Linked DNA regions of Homo sapiens: region 2 is linked to region 1. Evidence: promoter capture Hi-C in 16 types of primary human blood cells and fetal thymus (Javierre and others, 2016). All regions are on one chromosome and are shown on one strand. Each heading gives the region's core, a stretch centred on a gene start or on the middle of the fragment in contact. The rest is flanking DNA. Distances are from core to core; before and after follow the strand shown. Region 1 holds the start of EGR3 (early growth response 3). Region 2 overlaps TNFRSF10B (TNF receptor superfamily member 10b).

Evidence for each region. Contacts are between HindIII fragments. The CHiCAGO score rates a contact against its expected background, and 5 or more counts as called.
Region 2: a contact is called between a fragment that was not itself captured here and the fragment with the promoter of EGR3 in region 1, in 1 of 17 cell types (M0 macrophages). The highest score is 5.0, in M0 macrophages.

Annotation. Positions count from the first base shown.
Region 1 is chr8:22,692,018-22,695,662 of GRCh38, forward strand. EGR3 (early growth response 3) reads right to left here and starts at 1,463. Exons shown (of 2, transcript NM_004430.3): 1 at 774-1,463. The coding sequence starts at 927. It overlaps LOC105379321 (a long non-coding RNA gene), which reads left to right and starts at 2,840. Exons shown (of 3, transcript XR_001745832.2): 1 at 2,840-3,197; 2 at 3,427-3,515. RefSeq lists silencers at 1-82, 493-562, 1,425-1,544, 1,489-1,652, 2,535-2,754 and 2 more and enhancers at 1,697-2,342, 2,175-2,284, 2,325-2,424. The HindIII fragment of the contact is 8,376 bases long and covers 1-3,645 here.
Region 2 is chr8:23,035,737-23,039,194 of GRCh38, forward strand. The region is part of intron 2 of TNFRSF10B (TNF receptor superfamily member 10b); the gene reads right to left. Among named protein-coding and RNA genes, the nearest start is that of TNFRSF10B, 32 kb to the right of the region's middle. The HindIII fragment of the contact is 917 bases long and covers 1,726-2,642 here.

The DNA of each region.
Region 1 (3,645 bases), core at 213-2,712:
GGAGCTCTCCCTTCACCTACCCCGGCCCCAGCCTCCTCGGGCATGAAGGAGCTTTAGGCTCTTGCTGGAGGGGAAAATCCTAGCCCCAGCTAGGGAGGGTGGAGAGCGGCGGAAAACCGGCCGGTGTCTCCATGGCGGGAGAGGCCGCCCTTCCCCAGCTCCCCGGCCCCGGGATCGTTCCCCGTGGCAGGCCCTCGCCCCGCGGGTGAACCCCCTCCTTCTCCCCGCCGTCCCCACACCCCCACGGCTTTGCTGAACGCCCCGGAAAGGCAGCGTCGCAGTACCTCTCCCACCGCGGGGACTCCACGCCGCACATGGCTCCATCCCGGGTGGGAGGCTGAGGGAGTAAGGGGGGAGAGCGCGGGTGAAAAAGACGCCGGGCTCCTCCCGGGAAGAGGGCGACAGCACCACGCCTTGCGCGTAGCCCGGCGATCGGGCCCCCTGCGTGGTGAGGGAGAACCCCAGAGCCGCTCGCACCTACCTCCCTCCGGTCGGCGGCTGCCCCCACCCGGGAGAACCGAAGCCTCTACCGTGGCGTCGCCAACCTAGCCTTCTCGATCGAGGAGGGCGGGAGGAGTGGGTGGGAAAAGCAACTCGCCCCCCGCAAAATTCCCAGCGCGCCCCCATCTCTCCATCCATTTATCTATCCACCCATCCACCCATCCATCCATCCATCCATCCATCCATCCATCCATCCATCACCAGGTCGTCCCCTCCTCCTCTTCCTCTCCCCTTCCTTCCTCGCTGCCTCGCCGCCTCCCCGCCGCCCTTACCTGTAGCCATCTGATTGTAATGGACTACCGAGTCGCTGCTGCCGGAGAAGAGGTTGAGCGCGCTGGGGATCTCCTCGGGGTACAGATTGTCAGGCAGTTGGTTTAGCAAACTGCTCATGGTCACCGGCAGCTTCTCGGCGAGTTTGCCGGTCATAGCACTCCCGAGCTGCCGCCGCCGCCGCCACCGCCGCCACCGCCGCCGCTCGCTCCTAACGCAGCTTCCAGGCAAGCGGCATCCGAGAGGCGATCCGTGGTGCAGGGGAAAAGCATGCGAGAGGGAAAGTTCGGGGGGAGGGGGGAGGGAAGAAGGGAAGGGATGGGCCAGGAGAGGGGATCTTCTCTTTTTTGGGGGGCGGGAGAGGGCCCCAGGGGGTAATCCTCTTGGGTGCCTCAGCTGGTGCGGTATGAGGCTGGGTCGTGGGGGGGGTGGGGCGTGTGCGGGGGGTGGGGTGGGGGCTGGGCTGGGGGGGGATCTCGGCTCAAGGGGGTCGGACGCGGCCTCAGTATTGATCTCACAAACAGACACGCGCCCGCCGCCCCCCCGCCCCCCGATCTGCCACCGCCACCGCCACCGCCACCGCCGCCGCCGCCGCCGCCGCCGCCGCCGCCTCTGCCGCCGCTGCCGCCGCTGCTACCACCACCACCAGCCCCGCCGCTTCCTAGCAAGCTCACTGCTGCCCAAAAGCTCCCAGCCAGGGAACTCCACCAGCCTATTTATCTGAGCCCCGGGAAAGCTCCGTGACGTAGCTGCCCATATATGGACAGACAAAGCCCAGCCGAAGGGGCGCGACGTCACAATGGAAGCTCCTCACAATGGAACATTAGAAAGCAGGAAGCGGGCCGCAGCCAACGTGCGGCGCCCGCACCGCTCGCGGCTCTTGAAAAAAAGAGAAGGGGAGAAGAAACAAGAAGAATGCGAGAAGAGAGAGGAAAGAAGGATACAGCTGCATGCAAAGCGCAAAGCGCGTAGCGTGGAGTCGAAACACCAGTAACTCATTGTGTGTGTTTATTTGAGGTTTGCGTTAGGAGAGCGCATTGGGGAGAGGTGGGCGGTGGGGTGGGGTTGTTTGCAAGTGGTCTCCAACACCCCAGCAGTTAGAAAGAGAGTTGAAAACATCTGGCGAAATCCCTTTGCAGCCCGGGAACTGCTGGGGAACCCGGAAGGCGTGCGTTGCGCCCCTGCTACCTCAGCGGCTCCAGCGTTCGGGATCCTATCCGAGATTAAGAGAAAGGGAGTGCTTCCCTTTGTGGGGGGAAGGAGGGGTGCGCGCAGGGTTGGGGGGGTGTTTCAACTTGTCAGAATTCCTTGGTCCAATATCCCAAGAACTTTTGTGCCAACTTCACTCTGATTCGCCGCCCCTGCCCCTCCCTGGGCCCCTGACCCGGCGCTGACTCTAGGCTGAGCGCAGTGGCGAGGAGATTCGGAGCACCCCAGCAGTTGCGCCAAAGACAAGAGCCCCATCCATATGGGGTCGAGGATGTGCGGTTTTCGTGGTGAAGAGGAAAGAATGAAGTTGAAGGGATAGATAAACACGTGCACTGAATCCCCAGTAAATTCCCTAACGGTTCCAAGCAGCCTCTGTGGCCACAGGATGGCAGGAGGGCCCAGCAGGCCCGGGCGCAGTCGCTGTCTACTGCTGCCTGCGAAGGGCCCGCCAGAGTTCCAGAAGGAGGACGCCGAACCCACAGTCTCTGAGCCACTGGGGGCCTCCCCTAGTCTCTGCCCTCCCCCTCGCCTTCCACAGGGCTGTCCCCATTGCTGCCTGCCGGCGCTCCGCAGTCAAGGGCGGCCTGTGTGCCGACCCGGAGCGCTTTCACCTCCCGGAGCGGCAGCAGATCCCGGGGGCGGCTGCTGTGCTCCCTGGGGCCTGCTCCCGAGGCGCGCGCAGCCGGCCCGCGGGCGAGGGGGAGGAGAGGGCGGGAGCATGGGGGTGCGACCCCAAATCACATCGGCTTGGCGGGGGAGGATTCCCTCCTCGGTGGCCGCGTGGGCGCGGTGAATCCCTCGTCCCCTCCTGGGGAGTCGGGGTTGGGGGAACGTGCATTTCTCGGGGGGAGTGGGAGTGTTGACAAGGAAGAAGAGAGGATCCCCGGGCCTCACGCCGTGGGAGGGCCACGCGGGCCGGGGACGTGTGGGAGGAACTCCCGAGCTGCACGTTGTGGTGGAGGTGGATGACAACCTCGCTCCCCTCCCCTCCCCTCCACTCAGTGGAGGGCTGGGGACCGGAGGGCCCGGCCTCCCCCCATCTTCTCCAGTTCTTAGGAAAGGAGGGATTCCCGCCTCCCGCGAGCCCCCTCTCTCCACCCCCGCCGCCTCTCCCGCCAGGCTCCCCACTCCTATACTAGGGAGCCACAGCGCCCCCCGGGCTGTCCTCCGCCAGCGCGGCTCAGGGAGGGAGAGCGCTGCAGCGGTCCCGCGCTCCGGTCAGAATCAGGGCAGGCTGCGCCTCCCGCCCCCGGCTCCCTCCCTTAGGGGGGGCGCGCGGCCGGTCGGGGGGCGTGGGCGGCGGTGTGAGCCGGGCTAGGTGCGGGAGGGGCCCGGGCGGCTGCGGGGAGGGTCGCAGGGCGGCGGGCCAAGCCGGGAAGAGCCATACAAGGAGCGGATCCGGTGACGCGCCGGCCGCGCCCCTTCTCCTTCTCGATTTGGCTGCAGATTCCGGTCCCAAGATTTGCATATTTTGGCATCCAGTGGAAAAGGAAAGAAGAACGGAACCCGCAGCCTTTAAAGGAACCGCACAGGCTGTAGCGTCACCCAGGGAGGCGGTGGGGGTGGGGGTGGGGGCCTGAAAAATTAGCCAGCGGCTCTGGCCTCTGGCCGTAGAGCCCGGCAGCAGGGAGGGCCAGGGAGGGGCGGCAACCAGCGAGCTTCGGG
Region 2 (3,458 bases), core at 934-3,433, 340 kb after region 1:
CTGCCACCCCCACCTCCCTACAACCAAGAAAATGACACAATGCCTAGTGTGCTTATTTTGATTTTGGTGGCAACATATTCCTCATTTGGGTGTGTTTCTCTGGCCTATTTATCAAGTCACCTAAAAATGTGCTAGTTTTGAGTGGTGCTCAGAACAAGAAAAGGCTCTGCAACAGGTCCAGGCTGCCGTAGACATTTTTCTGTCACTTGGGCCATACGACCCAGCAGACCCAACGGTGCTTGAAGTATTGGTGGCAGACAGCAATGCTGTTTTGAACCTTTAGTAGCCCACTCTAGGTCAACCACAGCACAGGCCCTTAGGTTTTGGAGCAAAGACTTGCCATCCTCTGCAGATAACTACTCTCCTTTTGAGAAACAGCTCTTGGCTTGTTTCTGGGCCTTAGTGCAGACTGAATGGTTAACCATAGGCCACCAAATTACTCTACGACCTGACTGCTCATCGTGAACTGAGTGTTATTTTGCCTACCAAGCCATAAGTTTGGGCACATACAGCCTAAAGTTTCCATTTCCATTTTCAAATGTAATTGGTATATATACAAAATTGGGCTTAAATAGGCCCTGAAGGCACAAGAAAGTTACATGAAGAAGTGGCCCAAGTGCCCATGATCCCCACTCCTGCAATATTACTTTCTTTTGCCTGGCCTGCACTTATGGCCTCATGAGGAATTCCCTATGGTCAGTTGCCAGAAGAAGGTTTACAGATGGTTCTGCACCACATACAGGTAACCCTTAGAAGTGGATGTTTGCAGCATCACATCCACTGTCTGGGACGTCCCTGAAGGACAGTGGTGAAAAGAAATCCGCTAGGCCGGGTGTGGTGGCTCACACCTGTAATCCCAGCACTTTGGGAGGCCGAGGTGAGTGGATCACCTGAGGTCAGGAGTTCGAGACTGGCCTGACCAACATGGTGAAACCTCGTCTCTACTAAAAATACAAAATTACCGAGCATGGTGGCACATGCCTGTAATCCCAGTTACTTGGGAGGCTGAGGCAGGGGAATCACTTGAACCCGGGAGGCAGAGGTTGTAGTGAGCCGAGGTCGCCCCATTGCACTCTAGCCCGGGCAACAATAGCGAAACTCCGTCTCAAAAAAAAGAGATCCTGCCACTGGGCAGAACTCTGAGCAGTACACCTGGTTGTTCATTTTGCTTGAGGGAAGAATGGCTAGACATGTAGTTATATACTGATTCATGAGCTGTGGTCAATGATTTGGCTGGAGGGTCAGAGGCTCTGAAGGAAAACTGATAACAAGGAAGTCTGGGGAAGAGGTGTGTGGATAGACCTTTCTCAATGGGTAAAAAAACCATGAAGATATTTGTGCCCCATGTGACACAAATATCTTCACAAAAAGTGATCTTAGCAGGGAAGGATTTTAATAATCAGGTGGATAGGATGACCTGTTCTGTGACTACCAGTCAGCTTCTTTCCCAGCCATCCTTGTCATCACTCAATGGGCTCATGAACAAAGTGTGCATGGTGGCAGGGATGGAGGTTATGTATGGGCTTAACAATACAGACTTCCCTCACCAAGGCCAACCTGGCTACAGCTGCTACTGAGTGCCCAATCTATAGGCAGCAGAGTCCAACACTGAGTCTCTGATATAGCACCATTCAGAGGGTCAGTCTGCCAGCTACCTGGTGGCAGGTTGATTATTACACTGAACCATTTCTATCATGGAGGGGGCAGCATTTTTACTGGAAGAGAAGCTTATTTTGCACATAGACTTGCCTTCCCTGCATGCAATGCTTCTGTCAAAACTATCCTCTGTGGACTCACAGAATGCCTTATCCACAGTCATGGTATTCACACAGCATTGCTTCTGATTGAGGGACTCACTTGATGGCAAATGAAGCGCCCACTATAATGGGCCTGTGCTCATGGAATTACTGGTCTTACCATGTTCCCCACCATCTCAAAACTGCTGGCTTGGTAAGATGGTGGGATATGGCTTTTTGAAAACTCATTTACAATGTCAGCTGGGTGGCAGTACCTTGAAGGGCTGCAACAAGGTTCTCCAGGAGACTGTCTATGCTCTGAATTATCCTCCAATACATGCGGTTGCTTCTTCCATTGCTAGGATTCATGTGTCCAGGAATCTAGGGGTGGAAGCAGGAATGGCCCCACTCCACATTACCCTTAGTGGCCTGTTATCAAAATTTTTGCTGCTTTATGCTTTGCTAGAGCTCTGAGTTTCAGAGGGAGGAATGATTCCATGAGGAGACACAACAGTGATTCTGTGTAACTTGAAGACTGCCACTTGGCCACTTTGGGTTCCTCATGCCTCTGAATCAACAGGCGAAAACCAGTTACACAAACCCTGCTGGCTGGATTGACTGATTCTGAACACAAAGGGGAAATTGAAGGGAAAATTGGACTGTTATTCCACAATGGACGTAAGGAAGAGGATGTCTAGAATACAGGAGATTCCTTAGGGCATCTCTTAGTATTACCATGCCCTGTGAGTAAAGTCAATGGAAAACTACCACGACCCTATTAAAGCAGGACCACTTATAGCTCAGACCCTTCAGGAATAAAGGTTAGTTCACTCTACCAGGCACAGAGCCATGACCAGCTGAGGTGCTTAGTGAGGGCACAGGGAATACAGAATGCACAGCGAAAGAAGCTTCTTATAAATACCAGCTACAATGACATGACCAGCTATGGAAATAAGGACTGTAATCATTATAAGTATTTCTTCCTTATTGTGTTATGTGTGTGTGTTTATGTGTAAATATATGTTAAGCGAATATCTGTGTTTTCTTCCTTCTCTTATCCCCTTGTTATGTAACACAAGATATTTTGAATTTATATCATAGTATTTAAGTATTGTTCACTTTATAGTATTTATGTTCCAGGGTATCAAGGAAAGGAGTAAACACCACTCAAGAACTTTGCATCCTCTTCTGGAGAAAGGGTTAGTGCGTTTTCAGTTGTATACAGGATAGCTGTATTATGTTAGGTGGAAATATAATCTTATTATTTCCATTACTTGGAGATCAAGTATGGTTTAAAAGAATTTCAAATCTTTAAAAATTCTGTATTAGTCAGGGCTCTCTAGAGCAGGGGTCTCCAACATTTTTGCCACCAGGGACTGGTTTCCTGAAAGACAATTTTTCCACGGACTGGAGTTGGGGGCATGGGGATGGTTTCAGGATGATTCAAGCATGTTACATTTATTGTGCACTTTATTTCTATCACTATTATATGGTAACATATAATGAAATAATTATACAACTCACTATAACGTAGAATCAGTGGAAGCCCTGAGTTTATTTTCCTGCAACTAGATGGTCCTATCTGGGGGTGATGGGAGACAGTGACAGATCATCAGGCATTAGATTCTCATAAGGAGTGCGCAACCTAGATCTCTCAAATGTGGAGTTCACAATAGGGTTCACGCTCCTATGAAGTCTAATGCTGCCGCTGATTTGACGGCA